7 separate regions of the Homo sapiens genome follow, and regions 1, 2, 3, 4, 5 and 7 are each linked to region 6. Evidence: promoter capture Hi-C in 16 types of primary human blood cells and fetal thymus (Javierre and others, 2016). All regions are on one chromosome and are shown on one strand. The core of a region is centred on a gene start or on the middle of the fragment in contact, and the rest is flanking DNA. Distances in the headings are between cores, read along the strand shown.

Region 1 (3,560 bases), core at 534-3,033, about 13 Mb before region 6:
ATCACATATCTTCATGTGGTCATATATACATACTTCATGAGACATTATGTGTGTGTCAATGTTGGAAAACATTGCAGAGGGAGCAGTGCAGAGAAGCAGATGATGCATGAAGATCAGAAAGGTGGAGGTAGCCAGGTGCTAGAAGTCATAGATAAAAATAATAAGAGAGAGAAGTGTCAAGTACTGAGAAGAAAATATAGAAATGAGATTTGGCCAGTGGCATGTGCACCCAAACAGTGGTGAAGACAGGACAGGCTCCTTATGTGATCGGAAAACAGCCCGGATATCATGCCCCCAACCAGTTGCCACTCAACAAGCCCAGGCCTTCTCTGAGACCATGTTCACCCTATAAAGCAACCAGGTTTCTCTGCACACCCTCAGTTGTCTAGCTATGTGGGACCTTCATGAAGCCAAGTCCTACCAGAAAGACAGAACATGTGAGTGATCAGCACTGATGCAGAACGACTCAGCACACAACAGCCCATGGGCAAGAAAGTTAATATCATTAAACAAACAAACAAACAAACAAACTAGAAGGAGTGAGTAAGAAGAGCCCATTGTCCCCATAAGTATAGACAATGACAATGACTACAATCATGACACAGGTAGCCACAAGAAAATGTCAGCTAGCAGATGGGGGTGCAGGGAACTTGGGACACAAGGTGTCATGGATCTGAACACAGACACCCAGCCAAGAAGAGAGCAAGGAACAGAGATCCATTTGGCTGACTGAAGAACACCTGCTGCCCAGTGGCAGGTGTTCCCAGACCACTGGGCAGCAGGTGTTCCCAGACCACTGGGCAGCAGGTGTTAGGGCTACTCAGGCAGTGCACAGTGCTGGATCCCATAGCACATATCCCAAGAAAGTGGAGAAGTCAGCAAAAGACCATAGACAGACCAGGACACTGGAGTTGGTATTAGGGCCTTACCCAGTGAGGCTACAAGGGCAAAGTTCTCCAGCATCACTTCAAGGTACAGGAGTCTCTGAGCCTCATCAAGAAGTCCCCACTCGTCCTGTGAGAAGTAAATGGCGATGTCCTCAAAGGTCACACAGCCCTGTCATGATGGGGACAGGTCACTCCACAATCAACGCCTCCACAAGTTCATCCACCCACGCAATCATCCCCACCTTAAGGAAATACAGGCCCTGGTGACACAGATGCCCACTCTCTTTTCATGGTCCCAATGATCACTGTATCCTTCTACAGCACCAACCAGGAGGTGGGCAGGATGCACCACATCTAAACTTTGGGCCCGGTATGTAGGAGTGTATCCCTTCTTGTCAGGCAGTTCCCCAAGGGTCTTTCAGATAGTGCCTCCTAGACACAATCAAATGTGGCTTCACCTTTGACCCTTAAGTCCTCAATGCCAGGGGCCTGGGTCCTTCAGTTCACACTCCCTCTCCATGTACACATCATTCTTTGAACCATACTCGCTCAGTCTCACTCCCACGGCTACCTCCACCCCTCTGCCTGCCAAATTGAGACATCATCCAGTGCTACACAGACCTCTGATGGTTCCTACTGTCATAGACAGCCCCCACCCTGCTCTGAAGGGCTATCTTCCTGACTCTGTTCCTTGCTTCAACCTCAGCCACCAAGAATCACCTGATGTCAGACACCGATGGCCGTCCTCCACTTGTGCTGCACTTGATGTCCCCTCTTCAATCAACAACCTTCTTCTCACCTCTTAACCCTCATTCAAAATCAGTGGCCTCAGTGGCACAGACTCTCAGTGGCTCTCTACCTCCAACCTAATGACTCATACAGATGAACACTTGTACTCCTAAACTTATTCAACTGCTTGACTCACACCCTCCCCAGACTCACCAAGGGTCACAACAAATTCCTGGCGAGTTTTTACCATGGTGAATAAGCACTAGTCCTAGTGTTTTAGTCAGTTTGGCCTGCTAGCATAATACCACAAACTGGGTGGCTTATCAACAACAGAAATTTATTTCTCACAGATCTGCAGGCAGGAAGCCTGAGATCAGAGTGCCAGCATGGTCAGGTTCTGGTAGGGACTCTTTCCAGGTTGCAGACTGCTGACTTCTTGTATCCTCACTTGTTGGAAAGAGCACTAGATAGTAGCTCTCTGGCCTCTTTGTTTAAGAGCACTCACTAATCCCATTCATTAGGGCTCCACCCTCATGACCTAATTATCTCCCAAAGGCCCAACCTCCAAATACCATCACACTGGAATTAGGCTTTAAGCATATGAATTTTGCGGGGACACAGTCCACTGTACCTGGCCTCAGTGTCATCTTCTACCAATTATTTCTTTATCTCCATGTCTGTCTTATGTCCCTAATGCCTTGGAAGCCTTGACCACTTATCAGATGATATGATTTGGCTGCGTCCCCACCCAAATCTCTTCTTGAATTGTAGTTCCCACAATTCCCATGTCATGGGAGGGACCTGGTGAGAGGTAATCGAACCATAGGGGCAGGCCTTTCCCATGCTGTTCTCATGATAGTAAATAAGTCTCACAAGATTTGATGGTTTTATAAGGGGGGAGTTCCCCTGAACAAGTTCTCTCTTGTCTGCTGCCATGCAAGACATGCCTTTCACCCTCCACCATGATTGTGAGGCCTCCCCAGCCACGCGGAATCATGAGTCCATTAAACCTCTTTTTCCTTACAAATTATCTAGTCTCCAGCACATCTTTATCAGCAGCATGAAAATGGACTAATACAGTAAATCAGTATGAGTAAAGTGGGGCTGTGCTGTAAAGATAACTGAAAATGTGGAAGCAATTTTGGAATTGGGGAACAGGCAGAGGTTGGAACAGTTTGGAGGGCTCAGAAGAAGACAGGAAAATATGGGAAAGTCTGGAACTTCCTAGAGACTTGCTGTCTTTATCAGCAGTGTGAAAATGGACTGATACACCAGATCATCCTCTTTCCTACAATCTTCCCATGACCACTTTTCTCTCACAACTGTTTGTGATGCTCACCACCTCTACCACGTGTCCAAGCATGAGACACAGTCATAGCCCCAACCTTCCCTTTTCTGTTTTTTTGTTTTGTTTTTGAGATGGAGTCTCACTCTGTCACCCAGGCTGGAGTGCAGTGGCGTGATCTTGGCTCACTGCAACCTCCGCCTCCTGGGCTCAAGCAATTCTCCTGCCTCAGCCTCCCTAGTAGCTGGGATTACAGGTGCCTGCCACCACGCCTGGCTAATTTTTGTATTTTTAGTGGAGACGGAGTTTCACCATGTTGGCCAAGCTGGTCTAGAACTCCTGACCTCAAGTGATCCGCCTGCCTCGGCCGCCCAAAGTGCTGGGATTACAGGTGTGAGCCACCACACCCAGCCCTTTCCTGCATTATAAATAGCATTATCTTCAAGACCAGGATTACCCACTCCTAATTGTGACCCATAGCTACTCTGGGCCAAACACTGGCCACCACCTTTTGGATTTCTCCATCTTAAACCACTTCCAGAATTCTAGATGTACATGGACAGCTACTCACCTGATGTCTCCATATATCATTCTTTGGAATATCTCAGACTATGATAATAGCTAAAGACAAAACTCCTGTTATCCTTAATGAAAATTAA
Region 2 (3,519 bases), core at 192-2,691, about 14 Mb before region 6:
GTGTTGGCAGTTGCGAGAACAACATTAATTTCCTTCTATGTCTTCATCAGAGCTCTTGTCAGTGAGCAGCCATAATTTGAATCTTTTTTTCTCAGGAGGAAGTCTCTCAACAGTGGGTTTAAAATATTCAGTACACCATACTGTAAACACGTACTGTCATCCAGGCTTTGTTTACATTTATAGACAGCACTCAGAGTAGATTTAACTTAAATCTTAAGGCCCTAGGGTTTTCAGAATGGTAAATGAGCTTTGGTTTCAACTTAAAGTCACCAGTTGCATTAGCCCTTAACAAGAGTCGGCCTGTTCTTTAAAGCTTTGAAGCTAGGCACTGACTTCTTTCTAGTTGTGAAAACACTACCTGGCATTTCTTCCAACAGAAGGCTGTTTTCTTTACATTTAAACTGTTGTCTACTGTAGCGACCTTCCTCAGTGATCTTAGCTAAATCTGGAGAACTTGCTGCAGCTTCTGCATTAGCACTTGCTGCTTCACCTTGCACTTTTATGTTACGGAGATGACTTAAACTTCATGAACCAACCTCTGCTAGCTTCAGACTTTTTTATTTTATTTTATTTTATTTTATTTTATTTTATTTTATTTTATTGAGATGGAGTCTCACTCTTTTGCCTAGGCTAGTGTGCAGTGGCATGATCTCGGCTCACTGCCAACCTCTGCCACCTGGGTTCAAGCAATTCTCATGCCTCAGCCTCTTGAGTAGCAGGGATTACAGGCACTTGCCACCATGCCTGGCTAATTTTTTTTGTATTTTTAGCAGAGATGGGGTTTCGCCACGTTGACCAAGCTGTTCTCAAACTCCTGACCTCAGGTGATCTGCCCATCTCTGCCTCCCAAAGTGCTGGTATTACAGGCATGAGCCACCACACCCGGCCCAGACTTTTTTTTTGTTTTGTTTTGTTTTGTTTTGTTTTTGAGACAGCCTCACTCTGTTGCCCAGGCTGGAGTGCAGTGGCACGATCTCAGCTCACTGCAACCTTCGCCTCCCAGGTTCAAGCAATTCTCCTGCCTCAGACTCCTGAGTAGCTGGGACTACAGGCGCACGCCACCATGCCCAGCTAATTTTTGTATTTTTAGTAGAGGTGGGGTTTCACCATGTTGGCTAAGCTGGTCTTGAACTGCTGACCTCAGGTGATCCATCCCGCTTGGCCTCCCAAAGTGTTGGGATTACAGGCATGAGCCACTGTGCCTGGCCGGCTCAGAATTTTCTTCTGCATCTTCCTCGCCTCTCACAGCCTTCATAGAAATGAAGAGAGTCAGGACCTTGCTCTGGATTAGGCTTTGGCTTAAGAGAATGTTAGTTCTCTTTGGGTAGTTTGATCTCCTATCCAGACCATTAAAGCTTTCTCCCTATTGGCGACAAGGCTGTTTCAGTTTCTTGTCATTCACATATTCACTGGAGTCACACTTTTCATTTCCCTCAAGTTTTTCTCTTGGCCATCACAATTTGGCTGTTTGGCACAAGAGGGCTAAGTTTTGGCCTGTCTTTGACACGCCTTCCTTACTAAGCTTAATCATTTCTAGCTTTTGATTTGAAGTTAGAGGTCTGACTCTGCCTTTCACTTGAACACTTAGTGGCCATTGTAGGGTTATTAACTGGCCTAAGTTCAATATTGTTTTGTCTCAGGGAATAGGGAGGCCTGAGGAAAGAGATTGAGAGAGAGTGCGTACCAGCGAGCAATGGCAGGTTGGTGGAGGAATCAGGACACACAACATTTATCTGCTGAGTTCATTGTCTTATATAGGCGTGGTTCCTTTCACTCCAGAACAATTACAATAGTTACAACAAAAATTACTGATCACAGATCACCATAACAGATAATAATAATGCAATAGTTTGAAGTATTGTGAGAATTACCAAAATGTGACACAGAGACACAGAGAGCATATGCTGTTTGATAAATGGTGACAATAGACTTAATTGACACAGGTTGCCACAAACCTTCAACTTGTAAAAAATGCAATATCTGCATAGGATAATTAAGCAAAGTGCAAGAAAACAAGGTAATGCCTATATCTGGAAGTTAGTCGTGACACAGAACCTAAAGACTTACCGTATTTCCTTTATTCTGTGATACATATCTTGCCATATTTTAACATCTGAAAACAAACCAGGTTAATCAGTGATATGGTTTAATTGGCAGCCTTTTTTTATTTTTTTATTTTTTTTTAGAGAGAGTCTCGCTGTGTCACCCAGGCTGGAGTACAGTGGTGCTATCTTGGCTCACTGTAGCCTCCACCTGCCAGGTTCAAGCGATTCTGCTGCCTCGGCCTCCCAAGTAGCTGAGATTAGAGGTGCACACCACCACACCCAGCTAATTTCTGTATTGTAGTAGAGACGAGGTTTTGCCAGGCTGGTCTTGAACTCCTGACCTCAGGTGGTCCACCCACCTCGGCCTCCCAAAGTGCTGAGATTACAGGTGTGAGGCACTGTGCTAGGCCTCAGGCAGCCTTTTATTAGCACATAAAATGTACATGTTACCATCTGTTATCTTGGAATCAATGAAATAAGAGTAATATCAGAAGGAGGAATTGAATGACTAGTGAGAGTCCATTTGAGGAGAAATACAACTCTCAAGGAAAAAATCTTGTTGCTGAGATGACAATTAACATTGACATATCCGATGCAGTACAAAATGGCAAGTCTGTGTGCCATTGTAGTCCTTCCTACCTTGCTGAATAATCATTGTTACCTGCCTTCTTTCTTATAGCCTGTGTCAGCCATAATTGTTATTTTATTGCAAGATTTTTAAAGTTCATAATGTGGGGGGAAGCCAAACAGCACAGAAGAGTATATGGTTTGTTTGTTTGTTTGTTTGTTTGTTTGTTTTGAGATGGAGTCTTGCTCTGTCGCCCAGGCTGGAGTGCAGTTGCGTGATCTTGGCTCTCTGCAAGCTCTGCCTCCCGGGTTCACACCATTCTCCTGCCTCAGCCTCCCTAGTAGCTGGGACTACAGGCGCCCGCCACCATGCCCGGCTAATTTTTTTGTATTTTCTTGGTAGAGACAGGGTTTCACCGTGTTAGCCAGGATGGTCTCAATCTCCTGACCTCGTGAGCAGCCCACCTCGGCCTCCCAAATTGCTGGGATTACAGGCGTGAACCACTGCGCCCGGCTGAGTATATGGGGTTTTTTAGTAAGCTGCCTAAACAGGGAAAAGTCACCGTCCTTATGGAGCTTCTACTCTAGCTTTTATACTGAAATACCTTTTGGTCAGTAATCGTGTGTGTGTGTATGCATGTGTGCATTTTGAGGCTTTTATTTATAAAAGAAAACATAATATGCCTGGAAGCTAATAGGTGCTCATTTAAGTGTGTGATCTCTGGCTGCTTAGAAGGCCTATATAGGAAACTCAACCCTAATTAAAGAAAAAAGTTATGTGAAATTACATGAACACACTGGTGCAGGACCATGTAAATATTAGCAGCATGGTTAGGAGTGAGATTCTGTCTCAAAAAACAAAGAAAAAAAAAAGGCTGGGTGCGGTGGCTCACACCTGTAATCCTAG
Region 3 (3,573 bases), core at 583-3,082, about 13 Mb before region 6:
CCTGTATTTTGTTCTCATTAAATAGGTTCCTCTTTCACTTTGTTATTGTTTGATATACTAAAGTTTTAATTTTCATGAAGTCTAATTGGTCTATTTTTCTTTTGTCACATGTGTATTTGGTGTCAAATCCAAGAAATTATGGCCAAATTCAATGTCATAAAACTTTCACCCTATATTTTCTTTTAAGTGTTTTATAGTTTTGGGTCTTATGTTTAGGTTTTTAGTCCATTTTGAGTTCATTTGTGTTTTTGGTGTTAGGTAAGGGTTCACCTTCATTCCTTAGCATGTGAATATTTCATTTTCCCAGCATCATTTGCTGAAAAGATCATCGTTTCCCCATTGAGTGGTCTTGGTAGCCTTGTTGAGATCATTTGACCATATACATTACTATTGCAAATGATATTGTTTTCTTAATTTCCTTTTCAGATTTTTCATTGTTAGTGTATGGAAGGGCATATGAGTTTTACATGTTGACTTTTGCATGTTGACTTTGAATTCAGCTACACAGGTGAATTTGTTTATCAGTTCTTTTTTTTTTTTTTTTTCCCAGACGGAGTCTCACTCTGTTGCCCAGGCTAGAGTGCAATGGCTTGATCTTGGCTCACCACAAGTTCCACCTCCCAGGTTCAAGCAATTCTTCTGCCTCAGCCTCCCAAGTGGCTGGCACTACAGGCGCCAGCACCATGCCCGGCTAATTTCTGTATTTTCAGTAGAGCGAGGGTTTTACCATGTTGGCCAGGCTGGTCTTGAACTCCTGACCTCAGGTGAGCCACTGCGCCTGGGCTTTTTTGTTTTTGTTCTTGAGACAGTGTCTTGCTCTGTCTCCCAGGGTGGAGTGCAGTGGCGCGATCTCAGCTCACTGCAACCTCTGCCTCCCGGGTTCAAGCGATTCTCCTGCCTCAGCCTCCTGAGTAGCTGGGGTTACAAGCATACACCACCATGCCCAGCTAATTTTTGTATGTTTAAATTAATCAAAGTTGCCAGCAAAAAAAAAAAAAAATATTAATTCCTCCCTTAGAAGTTACAATAAACATCTTTTTAAAATTTTTTTGAGCCTGTCACCCAGGCTGGAGTGCGGTGGTCTGTTCTCAGCTCACTGCAACCTCTGCCTCCCAGGTTCAAGTGATCCTCTCATCTCAGCCTCCCAAATAGCTGGGATTACAGGCGCATGTCGCCAAACCTAGCTAATTGTTTTTTTGTATTTTTTGTACAGATGAGGTTTTGCCTTGGTGCTCAGGCTGGTCTCAAACTCCTGGACTCAAGTGATCTGCCCGCCTCAGCCTGACAAAGTGCTGGGATTACAGGCATGAGACACTGTGCCCAGCCTAAACATCTTTAATCTAATTCGACCTTCAAATAACTACTGGATTGCTTCACATGTAATGCAGGGACCCTGTAACAGGACCTTTGGGGATGAATTCTTTAGTATTTGTGTGAGAAAAGCTTTATTCTCCTCCACCTTTGAAAGATAACATTGCTGGATATAGATGTTAGGGTGGGGTTTTATTTTTTGTACTAAATTTTGAACTTTCACTCCATTCCCTTCTTGATTATCTGGTTTCTGACAAGAATTCTACTCTAAATCTCATCCTTGTTCCTCAGCAGGTAAAGTGCCCTCTCCCACCTCCATCTTCTTTCAAGAATTTCTCTATCTTTGGCCTTCTGTAGTTTGAATATGATGTACCTAGTTGTAGGTTTTTGGTATTTACACTGCTTCCTCTTCTCTGAGATTTCTGGATCTGTGGTTTGGTGTCTATGATTAATTTTGGACCTCCAAGTGGAGGTTGCAGTGAGCCAAGATCACACCACGGCACTCCAGTCTGAGCGACAGATCAAGACTCTGACTCAGAAAAAAAAAAAAAAGCCGGGCACGGTCACTCACGCTTGTAATCCCAGCACTTTGGGAGGCCGAACCACTGCGGCCGGCCCCATCTCTTTTTTTAAAAAAGGATATCAACATTATGGATTCATTCATTTATTCAACAGAAATTTATTGGTTCTTGGAAATGTTCCACTTTCCCAACCACTTGGAATACTTTAGTGAACAAAACTGACAAATTCCATGCTCTCCTTAGCCTTACATTTTAATGAAGCAAGACAATAAATTGAAAGCATAATCAGGAGATTATATCTTATATCCTAAGTAGATAAATACTATAGGAATATACATACTTGCATACATATTTATACACATTATCAGACCAGCAGCTTAGGAAGCTTCTGGTGTGGAGGGAACACTTGGCAGGGTAATTTTCTCATGAGTCCTCATATGGCGGTGGTATGTGGATGACTGGCGGTAGCTTGTCTTACAAAAGGGACATGTATAAGGCTTTTCTCCTGTGTGGATTCTCTCATGAGACCGCAGGTTGGTTTTGTGGCTGAAGGACTTTTTACACATGCTGCATGTGAAAGGCTTCTTTCCTGTGTGAATTATCTGATGCACCCGTAGGTCTGATATCTGGAAGAAGCCTTTTTGACACTCGGGACAAACAAATGGCCTCTCATTCCTGTGTCTTCTCTGGTGAGCTAATAAGTGACAGAGATACTTAAAGACCTTGGGGCATTCTTCACATTTGTATGATTTTTGGACTCCATGGGATCCTTTCTGATGTACCTCACATGTGGAATTTCCCTCATTGCTCTGGTGGGTAAGGGCAGACTCAGGGGAGGACTGCTCTGGTTGAGAGATACACCCTGCTCCCATCACCATAGGGACACCTTGGAAAGTGATTCCATTTATGGACCCTTCCTGAGATCTAGCAGTGACTAGCTCTGCTCTTTTTGAGTTGTATGGGTTGTCAGAAGAAACACCTCCCTCTTCAGGCCTAGGACCGTTCTCTTCCTGGATGATGATTAGGGAAACTATTTGATTGCCTTGATTAGTAATATTTTCATTTACTCGAGTAGTTTTCGAAGAACTGTTCCAGCCATCTTGTTCATCTTCATATCCTGTGAAAATAGACACTCAATGAAGTTGTACTTAAGAAGGGGTCCACATAGAACACTCCTCAGTTGTGCAGATTCACCTGACTTACCTTGTCCTGTTTCTAAGGAAGTATCTTGGGAAGTCTGGGAGGGTGTCCCCATGTTTGCTTCTCTTGTGGTTTGGGCATTCACTTGTTTTGTGAGATGAACAATGACATCTCTTAAGGGCATATCCTCAGAAAAGAGAGCTTCCTGTCCCTGCATGTGGACGTGGACCTGTAAAGAAAGCCAGATCACTGTTGTATCTGAATCTGTTGTGTAACAGAAGACTTTTTGGAAAAGTGGTCCTTAACAGGCTCTCACAAGCTCCCTCAAGTATTGGCTATCACATATTTTGTCCACCATCTCTGATGGTGTTATTCTTGTTACTACAAGCTCTTATGTTTAATAAAGTCACATGGACATTGAATTTACAAGTACTGAATCATTTCCCCTAGGAAAAATTCAGGGTTAGTTTCCTGTGAGCTTCTGGCTACATTATTTTTGTCAACTGATCAATACATGAGTTTGTTTTATGTGTGTATATGTTCAAAGACACCCCATTTAATATATATTATTGATTAATCCTGAACTCAGAGGATCCAACAC
Region 4 (3,505 bases), core at 272-2,771, about 14 Mb before region 6:
TTCAAGACCAGCCTGGGCAACATGGTGAAACACTGTCTCTACAAAAAAACAATTAAACGGGCATGGTGGTACATGCCTATAGATCCAGCTACCTGGAAGGCTGAGGTCGGAGGACAGCTTGAGTCCAGGACGCGGAGGGTGCAGTGAGCTGAGATCATGCCACTGCACTCCAGCCTCGGTGACAGAGACCCTGTCTCCAAAACAAAAAGAAGCTGACTTGTCTGTATTATAACACCCCCAAAATGTGTATATATATTCACATACATTCACGTAAGCCTATATAAGAAAGTCTGGCTGGAAATACACACCAGGGTTACCAGTGATTATGAGGGGAGGGCAGTAGACAATGCGTGTAACAGACTAAGGGAGCCCCTACTGTCAACACAAGTATCACCTGCCACCAGCAACAGGTTCACTTTCAACCAAGTAGGACACTGCTGACTGTGGAGCCAGAGAAAAACTTCGAGTTTGGTTCTGCAACTGCTCATCACAGCATCCCACCTGGGGTATCCCAATGTCTACTGCTTTTCCAAGATACTGGTCCCTGACTCATCAGTTGGCCCCTTCCCTGTGGGGGCTTCCCATGTCTGGTTCTCACCTGGAATGGTGTCTTGAGGAATTCCTCTCTCCACTGGCCAGAAATCTTCTGCCTCCTCTAACTGAGATACCACATCTGGTTTGGAAAGCTGATGTTCTGCTCAAAGGAAAAGAGACAGGGCTTGTGGGGGTCTGTGTTCAGGAGAAAATGCTATCCTACTGCAGCACAAGCCGTCTCCAGCTTCTCCCCTGCTAAGGCACATGACTTCTGGCCTAGAGCAGTGAACACAACTCCATCCATCCCTGTTGTTGGCTTTCCTAGACTCCTTTGCCAAGCAGCTAAGGGGTCCAGTTCTGGTCAGCCAGACACAAAGGGAGATCGGTCAGCTGGGAAAGCTTTTGCTTTCTGGTTAAACATGACAGCTGTGAAAGGGCTACCCCTTCTCCTTGTTTCTGCCTTGAACACAGATGCAATGCTTGGAGCCACAGCTGTGCAATGACTAGGGGGAACATGGAAAGGTTCACAATAACCAGAGTTTGAAGGGACAGGCTTTTTTTTTTTTTTTTTGAGACGGAGTCTTGCTCAGTTGCCCAAGCTGGAGTGCTGTGATCTGATCTCAGCTCACTGCAATCTCCTCCACCTCCCATGTTCAAGCAGTTCTCCTGGCTCAGCCTCCTGAGTAGCTGGGGTGCTCGGCTAATTTTTGTATTTTTAGTAAAGACAGGGTTTCATCATGTTGGTCAGGTTGGTCTAGAACTCCTGACCTCAACTGATCTGCCTGCCTCAGCCTCCCAAAGTGCCAGGATTACAGGCGTAAGCTACCGTGCCTGGCAGGGACAGGCTCTTTGATGCTACTCCTAAGCTGTTGGGACACTGGCATCGCATTGTCTGGAATTTCTGTGGAGTTTCTTTTTTTTTTTTTTTTTAATAGAGACACGGTCTATGTTGCCCATGCTGGTCTCAAACTCCTGGGCTCAAGCAATCCTCCTGCTTCAGTCTCCTAAAGTGAGCCACCATGCCTGGCCGGAACTCTTGTTGCAAGAACAATAAGCATCCACTACTGCAGCTGAAAACATCCCTGACAGACCCATCTCCCTGGTATTCAGGGAGGGATGGACTAGGCAATGATTCAGAAGTCATACTGAAAAGCTGCCCTTTTCCTACTGGTGCCCCTGCAGTGTGAGCCCAAGCAGACACATACTTCAGAGGTGCTACATTTGTGCTACAAAGCACAGATCCTTCTTGACCTGGAGGCCAGCCTTACCCACTGAGACCAGGTTCCTGTAGTTCTCCAGCATCACTTCCCTGTACAGGGACTTCTGTTTGAGGTCCAGCAGTCCCCACTCTTCCGGGGTAAAACCCAGTGTTACATCTTCAAAGGTCACTGGTTCCTAAAAATCCAGATTCTTGTTCAGCCACAGGCCATCCGCATCCACGACAAAAGAAAGACAGGGGAGGCTGACCAGGCCAGTGAAAGCACAGAATGGTCTACAAGATGACCCAAGGGCATTTTGGGAGTCTCATCCTGAGTTCCTGTCTTTGTCTGAAACCCCAAGCAAACCCAAGCTTGACTCTATTCAGGTTACAATAAGGAGAGCAACACATGAGATCTCTGTAGCATATGAAAATCTGTCCATTTTATTTATTTATTTATTTATTTAATTTATTTATTTATTGTTTTGAGACAGAGTCTCACTCTGTCTCCTAGTGGAGTGCAGTGGCGCAATCTTGGCTCACTGCAGCCTCCACCTCCCAGGTTCAAGCGATTCTCCTGCCTCAGCCTCCTGAGTAGCTGGGATTACAGGCGCATACCACCATGCCCGGCTAATTTTTGTATTTTTAGTAGAGATGGGGTTTCACCATGTTGGTCAAGCTGGTCTCGAACTCCTGACCTTGTGATCTGCCTGCCTCGGCCTCCCAAAGTGCTGGGATTACACATGTGAGCCACCGCACCCGGCCCTATTTTTCTTTTCTTTTTTTTTTGAGACGGAGTCTCTCTCTGTCGCCCAGGCTGGAGTGCAGTGGCGCCATCTCGGCTCACTGCAAGCTCCGCCTCCCCGGTTCACGCCATTCTCCTGCCTCAGCCTCCCGAGTAGCTGGGACTACAGGCGCCCGCCACCACGCCCGGCTAATTTTTTGTATTTTTTTAAGTAGAGACGGGGTTTCACTATGTTAGCCAGGATGGTCTCAATCTCCTGACCTCGTGATCCACCTGCCTCGGCCTCCCAAAGTGCTGGGATTACAGACGTGAGCCACCGCGCCCGGCCCCCTATTTCTTATTCATTTGAAAATTCTGACTTTGGGAGTGGTGCGTATGCCTCCTAGGGAATTCTCTGAGCTGCACCATCACACCCAAGCCGTCAGCCCCTACCCAGGGCCCTGATGCTTCTTTCTATCTCCTTCACCTGTCAGGGATCCATCCTCACCTGTCTTTTCTACTTGTTATTGAACTCTGCTGCTGTCACCTCTTGCTTGATGCCAATTTATCTGCTGAAATCTAAACATAAGCCTGATCCCTGCATAGACCTTTGGGAGGCCGAGATGGTCGGATCACCTTAGGTCAAGAGTTCCAGACCAGCCTGGCCAACATGGTGAAACCCCGTCTCCACAAAAAACACACACAAAAAATAAAAATAAAAAAAAAATTAGCTGGGTATGGTGGCACACGCCTGTAGTCCCAGCTACTCGGGGAGGCTGAGGCAGGAGAATCACTTGAACCCAGGAGGCGGAGGTTGCAGTGAGCCAAGATCGCGCCACTGCACTCCAGCCTGGGCGACAGAGGGAGACTCCATCTCAAAAAACAAAAAACAAACAAACAAAAGACCTGTCAATTACTCTTCCCAATATAAAGGATACAAGCAAGAGCCTTAACCTGGCCTTCAGAAGCCCCTACAATCTGGTCTCTATTCTAACTACACCCTTGGAAAACCAAGCAACCTGCGGTTCCACCATCACGCAGGATCTCTC
Region 5 (3,338 bases), core at 98-2,597, about 13 Mb before region 6:
CTCTGTGGCTGCTCCTACAGAGCAGGGCAACCCCATAGGCAGTGTGTCGAGTATCAGCTCAGGGGGCAGCTCTGCAATCATATTTATACCCGCTTTTAACTACATGCAAAGGGTGGGTTATTTGGAAATTTCTAGAAAAGGGATGGTAATTTCCGGGTGTTGTCATGGTGATGGTAAACTGCCATGGCACTGGTGGGTGTGTATTATGTAGATATGCTCTTGGTGCCTGTTCCCTGTTTCAGCCAGTCTTCAGTCTGGTATGGAGTCCTGCCTCCTATCTCACTCTCCCATCAGAGATTAGATACTCCTCTTTAATCTTAAGGGGGCTCTGTGACTGCTTGCTGCTGATTTTGTGGGCCTAGGCCCTGCCTAGCACTAAAGGAGTAAACATCCCTGGATACCACATATAAGGTCCCCAAAGGAAGGACACTTCCATTCTCTGGAATAGTAGACAAGGATGGGTTGGAAGCCTTGTGCCAGCATTGTCTTTACCTGGAACTAGAACAGGATACCCCAACCCCTCTCCTGTGGATACTGGTCCATGTCCTGTTAGGAACTGGGCTGCACAGTAGGAGGTGAGTGGCAGGTGAGTGAGCATTACTGCCTGAGCTCCACCTCCTGCCAGATCAGTGGCAGCATTAGATTCTCATAGGGGTGCTAACCTTATCATAAACTGTGCATGCAAGGGACTGGGGTTGCACACTCCTTATGAAAATCTAGTACCTGATGATCTGAGGTGGAAGAGTTTCATCCTGAGACCAGCCCCCAGCCCCAGCCCCACATACCCCATCCATAGAAAAATTGTCTTCCATGAAACTGGTCCCTGATGCCAAAAAGGTTGGGGACTATTGATCTAGAAAACACAAACTTTACTAAGAGGTTAAACAAGCAAGAGCCAAAGAAAATATACATAACAGGGTCACTTGCTTATAGATCTTTTGAATGTTAACCTATCCAGAGTTGCTAATATATGTGCAGCAGGTTTTATTAACTGCACAGACTTTACCTTGTTCCGCTAGTAGATAATCTAATGCCAGTGTGTTATTGAGAACTGCATTTGCCAAAGAGTCTAGAGATTCTTGAATTGCTGGTAGTGCCTAACCTGTGTTGGTGGCTAAGGATTCTAGAGTTTGAGTCAAGTTCTTTAGGGTTGACTTGTGGTAGGCAAAGCCACCCTAGGGTGCTGCTTGTCCTATGGCTGCCCTGATTCCCACCAGAATTAATCCTATTGCTTGTTGACTTCTGGTGTTCCTGGGCCTTATTGGGTTATAGACTGTGACCCTTGGAGGGGCAAGGGTGGTCAACATACATTTATCTTTGTTCCAAGTTTTTGATATATAAGGGAAAGCTACTCCTAAAAGAACAGATGGCTCCCTGGGGAGCCAGGAGTAGTTACAGCATGTGACTTCTCATTCATGGCCACAAACAAAAATGAGTCCAGTTGGAGCATAGAGGTCCTACAGGGTGTAATGTCTATCCTTTGCTGCCAAGTTGGGTCTATAGAGATATTCTTCCCCTGTTCCAATGGGGGTGGTCAAACAAACCTTGTTTTCCAGAAGCGAATAGTACTCCCACCCTCCCAGATTAGGCAGTCATTTTTTCCCGTGTGTTCTGGTCTGGGAGAAGACATCATATATGGTCTTCTTGCCTACAAGTGAAATACCATTTACCTTGCTGTTGCCTTGGAAACTTGGTAACTATAGTTAGATCAGAGCATCACAGGGAAACGTCTGCTTTTGTGTCATTAACATAGTAGTGAGTGCAAAAGAATCATTAATGCACTGGAGATATACTCAACTTTTCAAGTCCAGGTATAATGGCAAGTGTGGAAGGGGACATTCAGGTGGAATCCATTAAGTGAAGGAGAGTTCCACTGAATAAGTAGGGGTTTTGGTACTTTGGGATTGCTATGGTTAGTTAGAAGTACTGGGTAGATGTCTGTGAGGTTTTCCAGATAGGCCAGAAGATGGAACTCTAGATCCTGGGGATGTTGATGACAAGTCCAGCAACCATGAAGATGATTCCCTGACACTATAATTTTTGAACTGTTTACTATAGAGGTTTGATCTAATTAGAACAATTAGAGGATTTCTGTCTAAACTTTCACCTAGTGAGAGCTTTTTGTCCCTAATGACAGACATTCATGGCACTGTATAGAGGGGATATTTCATGCTGAGTGAATACCCTTCTCCCTCTCCATTTGGGTTGTGTTTTTCCTCCATGTAAAAGCTCAGGACTGCCCAATGAATCTAGACAGTTCCATTATGAGACAAGTTAATTTTCTTCTTCTGGAAGGCATACAATGGGGACAGCCTATTAAGCCCAAACCTCTCTTTCTAACTTCTTCCTGGAAAGAATTTGGAGTCAGAGTTCTTATTTAACATTTCAGATCCTACAGCGCCACCAAGTGAAATAGGATTTTTTCTCCATAAGGAGCCCTATCTGCCCTTTGTGCAAAACCATTAGTTCCCCAATTCCTCTCCCTCCTGTGTGCCTCTGTTAGGGACTAAGCTCCATGCTCCATCTGTTAACAGCAAAGCTGTACCTTTAACAGTCGGGAGAACAGCCACTCAATCCTTATGTTCTTTTGAGTCACCTGTTCTGCATTGAACTACACTGGCATTTAAATAAAAAGAAGATTTCATATTTGGAAGTCAATCGGTCCCATTCTCTGGGATTTCAATGTTTTGCTAGGGCCATAGCAAGGGAAGCCAGAGATAGTATTAAAACACTCCCTCCATTAAAGGGTCTCACCCAAATACAATATCTCCCAGACCACTAGGGTACCCTGGGAGCCTTATGGGCCACTTGGGACTAGGAAACCAGCAGCGTGGAGAGTCAGGTCCTCATACAGGTAAGCATGACTATTACACCCAACTAGCTCTTCCAGATCCACGGGTGAAGGTCATGCTTGCATCCATGGGTGACACCTATGATGGTGGCCAGGACCCAGAGTATGGGAAGAAAGAGAAGTGGGATGCACTTTCGATCTTTCCCTCCACCCTGGGTCACACCAAAAAAAGGAAAAAGACCAAGGGACGCCTTTTCTCCTACTCTTTTTAAAACAGGTAACAAACCATCTTCAGTCTGCACTCCTCTTGAGTGCATCCTGAGACACTGAGACTTTTAACCCTGAGACTGAAGAAAAATGGCTTATATTCTTCTGTACGAGGACATAGCCATCTTACCAGCTCCAGGATGGATAGGCCTGGGCTGCTGAGGGAAGTGTTAATTTCAATAATATCCAATAACTAGATCTTTTCTGCACGTGGGAGGGCAAACGGTCTGAGGTCCCCTATGTGCAAGCCTTCTTTGCCCTGTGAAACAGCCCAGCTCTT
Region 6 (3,549 bases), core at 371-2,870:
AAAAACAAAAACAAAAATAGGTGAAGTTAATTTCAACAACATAATTTAAGCCAATGTATCCAAAATATTACCATTTTGACATATAATACAAAAAATTATCAATGAGCCATCTTACATTTTTTGTACAAAGTTTTTGAAATCCAGTGTGTATTTAACACTTACAGCACATCTCAATTTGGACTAGACACATTTCAAGTGCTCCTAGGGCACACATGGCTTATAGCTACTGGATTGGATAGTGCATCTCTATAATGAGCATTCATTACTTCTATAACTAGAATATGACATATTTTGACATGGAATGAAATTAAGTAAGTGAGATGTTGCAGGATTTTTCTAAAAAATTCAAAATTCATCAGTGCAGTTTTTGAGGTCTTCCACAGTAAAATCCATACCTACATTCCCAAGGCTGATTTCCAACGACTCACCGGTAGCCATATGGATTACTATTTAAGATAACTGAAGACGACTGTATCATTGAGATTAAGACCACAGACTCAGAAAAAGGAATAGAAAATAAACAACAACAAAAACCAAAGAAACAAAAACAAACAAAAAAGATCACACAGTCTGAAAAGGAATGCTTGGGTTCAATCCCAAATCCACCTCTTACTATCAGTTGAATAACTTCGGGAAAGTATTTAATAACATAAACTCTGCCTAATTTCCTCATAACAAAATAACAAGACCTACTTCATCAATAGCTATGGTCCACAGACGAATGCCTTAAAATCAAAGTGGTAAGATGTTATTGGTAATACTCATTTCCAAGTAGTTTTCCTACCCACTCTCACATTTATTCAACAAATATTTCATCATTTTTCAGTAGTAACTTACTGAGTGACGGAAACTTGATTAACTGAAAGGACAGAAAATGGAACAACAAAGTGCGTTCAAGAGCAGGTACCTGGGGCTATGCTGGGAGAAGCCAAGAAGTCCCTCCTTCCTCCTCTTTGCAAATTCGGAGGCGGTGAATAAAAGGATGCTGTCAGCACGATGGAGTCTCTATCCCGGATAAACGGCGGTAAACATCCCCACGCATTGGAGCCCGATGACTCAATCCTTCTTAAAAAAAAAAAAGATCTGTAAAAGTTCGGGAAGAGCTCGGTCTCCTGAAGGATACGACAGAAAGGCCATGGCATAAAGCCCTGACTTTTCTTCTCTCTTCACTGGAGCTTCCAGTAAAAAGGGCGCTTGTGAGGGAATCACTGTATCAATAGCAGGAGCCAACCCAGTATCAGGTGCCACCACTGTTCTAAGGTTTGACCCGTATTATCTTGTTTAATTCTAATTACAACCCTACACAGTAACGACTATCTTTATTGCTATTTTAAAGATGAGGAAACAGGAGCGCGGATCATAGGTAACTCGCTGTTTATTATACCCACAGAACTAGCGGCGCTGCTTGCCAAGTGCGGGAGGAGAGCAAACTTCCCGCCCTCGGCCTCTCGGCCTCCGCCGCGGCCGCGACCTCTCCATCCCAAGACTGATGGCTGGGGAGCGCCTATTCCCAAGCACAGGCTGAAAAGGTTCAAGAGGGGTCGTGGGGGTGCAGGGCTGACTCACCTCCCGGACCCAAAAGATGGTGGCGGCCTCGCTTTCCGGGGCGGAAGTGGCTCTGCCTGCCCAGAGCTCCTGAACTACCCTTCCCAGAAGGCCCGCGCTCCTGCGGCCCAATTGTTTCCGGACAGAGTTCTGGAATACGTTTCCCAGAACTTCCAGAAGGAAAAACCATCCAGGTGCCGCCCTCTTCGCGCTTGAAAAAAAAAAAAACAAAAAAAAAAACGGAGCGAGCGAGTGAGAGAGGGTTACGGAGAGTGTGACAAAATTCTCGGAGCTCCCGGACTACAACATCCAGAATCCTCTTCACGGCTTATTGCTGTTTAGCCAGGCTGAAGCAGTTCTCTGATGTCAGTGGAATTTAGGTTTTTCTTATTAACAAAAAGTAACAGCAAATATGTGAAGAATTGGAGCCCTAAAATAAAAAAAGACTCCCAGCACTTTGGGAGGCCGAGGCGGGCGGATCACGAGGTCAGGAGTTCCAGACCAGCTTGGCCAATATGATGAAGCCCCGTCTCTACTAAAAATATAAAAATTAGCCGGGCGTGGTGGCGCGCGCCTGTAGTCCCAGCTACTTGGGAGGCTGAGGCATAAGAATCGCTTGAACCCTGGAGGGTGCAGTGAGCCAAGATCGTGCCACTGCACTCCAGCCTGGGCGACAGAGTGAGACTCTGTCTCAAAAAAAAAAAAAAGAAAAAAAAAACTATTATAAGAAACAGATCACGTGATCCTGTACTAATAGAATTATACCCACCACTTCCAAAAAAAAAAAAAAAAAGGGCAGAGGAAACCCTTTAAGTTTTTACATTTAACAGGATCGACTAATAGAAAAACTACTCTTTAGATACTAAAAGAATGAAAGAGCAATCAAAAAATGCAACGAAGGCAGAATATATTATGGATTTCCACTTTTCTTAATAGCACAGTCATATAATTCAGAACAACTTGCTTACTGAGGATAGCTAGACATAGAAAACACAAGCTTTGGCATATGGTAGATCAACTCCACAAAGCAACTAGGGCCTCTGTAATCATTCCTCAAGGAGTTTCTGAATTTGAAAGATGAACAAATTTATTACTTCAGTGTTTAAACCTTGATCTTTATTTGCTTAAATGTATAATGGAATTGATGTTTCCAAGAATTGAGGGTTGAAAGAAGAGAGCAATACCTAAAAATATCCACATATCTACTACAGTACATGTTTGCAGTTCTCATTTACTAAATATATATTCTTTATTCTGTTATATACAACTATCTCTTATAAAGAACCAAGTATGTGCCAGGAACTAGTTCAAACTATTCAGACTATGGGACCCTCACTACATTTTCACAACTTTTTTCTTTTTTTTTTTGTTCTGTTTTGTTGTTGTTGTTGTTGTTGTTGTTGTTAGACAGAGTTTGGCTCTTTTGCCCAGGCTGGAGTGAAGTGGCATGACCTCGGCTCATTGCAACCTCCGCCCTCACACAAGGTTCAAGCAAGTCTCCTGCCTCAGCCTCCCAAGTCGCTGGGGTTATAGGCACCCCCCTCCCCACCACGCCCAGCTAATTTTTGTATTTTTAGTAGAGACGGGGTTTTGCCATCTTGGCCAGGCTAGTCTTGAATTCCTGACCTCAGGTGATCCACCCGCCCCGGCCTCCCAAAGTGCTAGGATTACAGGCATGAGCCACCACACTTAGCCCATTTTCACAACTTTTTTAAAACAAATAATGTCCTCTAGTTTACTCTTTGGGATCCAGAGGCAGAGAGAGGTTAAGTATATCTCCTAAGATGGAAATTTGATTATTTTCACCTGCATGTCTATCCAGTGCCCTTAAGAGAAGGTTCAAATGCTTTAACAAGTCGCACAAACAGGAATTTTCCAGATGCTGTTTCTCTCTTGGAATCCACTTTCCACTCTACATGTCCAGCCATAGTGGATTACTTGTACTCCTACAAAAAGCCTCTAATTCTTTGTATTTGGTGTTCCTTCTGTCATAACCTGCTACTC
Region 7 (3,524 bases), core at 975-3,474, about 13 Mb before region 6:
AAAGATCTGGCTGGGCATGGTGGCTCACACCTGTAATCCCAGTGCTTTGGGAGCGCAAGGCAGGAGGACGACTTGATGCTGGGTCAAGACCAGCCTGGGCCATATATATAGCAAGACCTTATCTCTAAAAAAAAAAAAAAAAAAAAAAAAAAAAAAAAAAAAAAGATTAGCTGGTCATGATAGCGCATACCAGTAGTCCTAGCTATTCTGGAGGCAGAGGTGGGAGAACTGCTTGAGCCCAAGAATTCAAAACTGAGGTGTGAGGATCACTTGAGCCCAGGAGTTTGAGTTGATTGTACCATTACACTCCAGCCTACGTAACACAGTAAGACCCTGTCTCTTAAAAAAAGAAAAAAAGAAAAAAGAAAAATCTAACAATGCTTCTCAAGGAACTAGAAAAGAACACATCAGACCCAAAATTACAAGGAAAGAATTAATAAAGATCAGAAGAGTAATAAATAAAACTGAGACTTAAAAAAAAATTCAAAGGATCAACAAAATGAAAAGTTCATTTTTTGAAAAGAAACCATTAGACTAACCAAGAGAAAAGACTCAAAATCAAACACATACAAAAATGACACTGCAACTGATACCACAAAAATACAGAGTCATTAGAGACTATTATGAACAACTACAAACCAAAAAGTTGGAAAACCTACAGAAAATAAATTCCTAGACACATACAACCCATCAGGATTGAACCTAGAAGAAACAGAAAATTTCAATTGACCAATTCTGAGTAACAAGATTTAAGCAGTAATAAAAAGTCACCCATCAAAGGAAAGTCCATGATCTCATGGCTTCACTGCTGAATTCTACCAAACATTTTAGGGGAATTAAATATGAATTCTTCTCAAACTTTCCCAGAATAATGAAGAGGAGGGAATTATTCTAAACTCACTCCACAAGCCAGCATTACCATGACACAAGCACCAGATAAGGACACACACATGCAAAAGAAAACTACAGGCCAATATTCCTGATGAACATAAATGCAAAACTCCTCAACAAAATACTAGCCAACCAAATCCAAAAGTACATCAAAAAGATTGTTTACCATGACCAAGTGGAATTCATTCTAGGGATGCAAGAATGGGTTCAACATACACAAAACAATAAACATGATAAATCAACAGAATGAAGAACAAAAAATGTGATTATCTCCATAGGTGGAGAAAAAGCCTCTGGTAACATTCAATATCCCCTCATGATGAAAACTCTTAACAAATTACACATAATAATAGAAAGAATGGGCCGGCCGCGGTGGCTTACACCTGTAATCCCAGCACTTTGGGAGGCCGAGGCGGGCGGATCACGAGGTCAGGAGATCAAGATCATCCTGGCTAACATGGTGAAAACCCATCTCTACTAAAAATACAAAAAATTAGCCAGGCATGGTGGTGGGCACCTGTAGTTCCAGCTACTTGGGAGGCTGAGGCAGGAGAATGGTGTGAACCCAGAAGGCGGAGCTTGCAGTGAGCTGAGATCATGCCACTGCACTCCAGCTGGGCGACAGAGCGAGACTCCATCTCAAAAAAAAAATTAAAAAAAATTATAATAATAATAGAAAGAACGTACCTCAACATAATAAAGGTAATAAGTAACATACCCACAGCTAACATCATGCATAATGGGAAAGTGCTGAAAGCTTTCTCTCTATAATCTGAAACAAAACAAGTATGCCCACTTTCACACCTTTTAACAAAGTACAAAAGGTCTGAGACAGAGTAATCAGGCAAGACAAAGAAATAAAGGGCATGCAGATCAGGAAGCATGAAGTCAAATTATCCCTGTATGCACATGACAGGATCAAATATATAGAAAACCCTAAACTCCAAAAGTGGCACCAAAAAAATCTTAGGACTGATAAATTCACTGAACTTGCAGGATATAAAATCAACATGCAAAAATCAGCAGCATTTCTATACACCAACAATGAATTAGCTGAAAAAGAAATCAAGAAAGCCATCCCATTTACAATACTTCAACAAAAATAAAATAAGAATACATGGAAAACTATATAACACTGATGAAGTAAATCAAAGAGGACACACATAAAAAAGGAAAAACATCCCATGGTCATGGATTAGAATGGTTACTATAAAAATGAACATACTTTCCTGTAAGAGATAGCTTATGAAAAAAAATGAACATACTACCTCAAGTGATCTACAGATTCAATGCACTCTTAACAAAATACCAATGACATTTTTCACAGAAATAGAAATAGTAATCCTAAAATTCATGATATCACAGAAGATACTGAATATCCAAAGCAATCCTAAGCAAAAAGAACAAAATGGGAGTCATCACACTACCTGACCTTGAAATATACTACAAAGTGATGGTAACCAAAACAGCATGGTTCAGGTATTTTTTAAAAACCACACAAACCAATGGAACAAAACAGAGAGCCCAGGAATAAATCCCATTTACAGCCAACTGATTTCTAACAAAGGCACAAAGAACATTCACTGGGAAAAGGACAGTCTCTTCAATAAATGGTGCTGGGACACTGGATATTCATATGCAGAAGAATGAAAGTAGACTCATCTCTCACCATACACAAAAATCAACTCAAAACACCAAGTATGCTGGCTCATACCTGTAATCTTAGCTACTCAGAAGGCTGAGTTGTGGCTCACTTGAGTCCAGGAGTTCAGGACCAAGCTGGGCAATGTGGTGAGACTATGTCTCTAAAAAATAATTAAAAAGCAAAAACAAAAATTGGGAATGTATTTTTAGGGCAATTTGAATCTATGCTCTCAGGATAATCAACTCAAAATGGTTTGAAAGCTTAAATGTAAGAGCAAAAACTATGAAACTACAGAAGAAAACATAGGGGAAATGCTTCTGGATATTGGTCTGGGCAAGGATTTTATGAATACCTGAAAATCAAGGTAACAAAAGCACAAATAAACAAAGGGATTATATTAAACTAAAAAACTTCTGCACAGCAAAGGAAACAACAGAATGAAGAGACAACTAGTAGAGTGGGATAAAATATTTGCAAACTATTCATCTGAAAGGGATTAATATCCAGAATATAAAAGGAACTCAATAGCAAAAAAAATAAAAATAAAAAATCTGATTTTAAAATGGGTAAATAAGGTGAATAGACATCCCTCAAAAGGAGACATACAAATGGCCAAGTATATGAAAAAATGCTCAACATCACTAATCAGGGAAATGCAAATCAAAACCACAATGAGATATAATTTCACCTCAGTTAGGATGGCTATTACCAAAGATAAAAAATAAAAAATGCTGCTGAGAACATGGAAAAGGGGGAACTCTTATATATGGCTGGTAGGAATGCTAATTAGTATAGCCATATGGAAAACAGTATGAATGTTCCTCAAAAATCTAAAACTATAGCCAGGCACGGTGGTGTGTGCCTGTAGTCCCAGCTACTCAGGAGGCTGAGGTGCAGGACTGCTTGAGCCCAGGAGTCTGAGACCAGCCTGAATAACACAGCAAGACCCCATTTTAAAAAATGAAAAATAAACAAAAGTTAAAAATAC

Evidence for each region. Contacts are between HindIII fragments. The CHiCAGO score rates a contact against its expected background, and 5 or more counts as called.
Region 1: a fragment that was not itself captured here is called in contact with the fragment with the promoter of ZNF227 in region 6 in 1 of 17 cell types (non-activated CD4 T cells); the score reaches 7.7 in non-activated CD4 T cells.
Region 2: a fragment that was not itself captured here is called in contact with the fragment with the promoter of ZNF227 in region 6 in 1 of 17 cell types (total CD4 T cells); the score reaches 12.0 in total CD4 T cells.
Region 3: a fragment that was not itself captured here is called in contact with the fragment with the promoter of ZNF227 in region 6 in 2 of 17 cell types (non-activated CD4 T cells and activated CD4 T cells); the score reaches 7.3 in non-activated CD4 T cells.
Region 4: a fragment that was not itself captured here is called in contact with the fragment with the promoter of ZNF227 in region 6 in 2 of 17 cell types (total CD4 T cells and naive CD8 T cells); the score reaches 14.9 in total CD4 T cells.
Region 5: a fragment that was not itself captured here is called in contact with the fragment with the promoter of ZNF227 in region 6 in 1 of 17 cell types (total CD4 T cells); the score reaches 7.7 in total CD4 T cells.
Region 7: a contact is called between a fragment that was not itself captured here and the fragment with the promoter of ZNF227 in region 6, in 1 of 17 cell types (activated CD4 T cells). The highest score is 6.8, in activated CD4 T cells.

Annotation. Positions count from the first base shown.
Region 1 is chr19:57,586,035-57,589,594 of GRCh38, reverse strand. ZIK1 (zinc finger protein interacting with K protein 1) reads right to left here. Exons shown (of 4, transcript NM_001010879.4): 3 at 930-1,056. Among named protein-coding and RNA genes, the nearest start is that of ZIK1, 3.7 kb to the right of the region's middle. The HindIII fragment of the contact is 5,417 bases long and covers 1-3,560 here.
Region 2 is chr19:58,101,786-58,105,304 of GRCh38, reverse strand. It overlaps a transcript of ZSCAN18 not described here. Among named protein-coding and RNA genes, the nearest start is that of ZSCAN18, 5.3 kb to the right of the region's middle. The HindIII fragment of the contact is 167 bases long and covers 1,358-1,524 here.
Region 3 is chr19:57,677,542-57,681,114 of GRCh38, reverse strand. It overlaps ZSCAN4 (zinc finger and SCAN domain containing 4), which reads right to left. Exons shown (of 5, transcript NM_152677.4): 4 at 3,036-3,201; 5 at 1,963-2,949. The coding sequence ends at 2,210. Among named protein-coding and RNA genes, the nearest start is that of ZNF551, 2.6 kb to the left of the region's middle. The HindIII fragment of the contact is 774 bases long and covers 1,446-2,219 here.
Region 4 is chr19:58,184,136-58,187,640 of GRCh38, reverse strand. It overlaps ZNF274 (zinc finger protein 274), which reads right to left. Exons shown (of 8, transcript NM_133502.3): 3 at 1,803-1,929; 4 at 599-694. Among named protein-coding and RNA genes, the nearest start is that of ZNF274, 2.8 kb to the right of the region's middle. The HindIII fragment of the contact is 1,171 bases long and covers 936-2,106 here.
Region 5 is chr19:57,566,146-57,569,483 of GRCh38, reverse strand. No RefSeq gene overlaps it. Among named protein-coding and RNA genes, the nearest start is that of ZNF550, 8.0 kb to the right of the region's middle. The HindIII fragment of the contact is 4,639 bases long and covers 1-3,338 here.
Region 6 is chr19:44,210,603-44,214,151 of GRCh38, reverse strand. ZNF227 (zinc finger protein 227) reads right to left here and starts at 1,620. Exons shown (of 6, transcript NM_182490.3): 1 at 1,567-1,620; 2 at 908-1,062. The HindIII fragment of the contact is 5,683 bases long and covers 1-2,544 here.
Region 7 is chr19:57,294,144-57,297,667 of GRCh38, reverse strand. No RefSeq gene overlaps it. Among named protein-coding and RNA genes, the nearest start is that of ZNF460, 15 kb to the right of the region's middle. The HindIII fragment of the contact is 1,148 bases long and covers 1,651-2,798 here.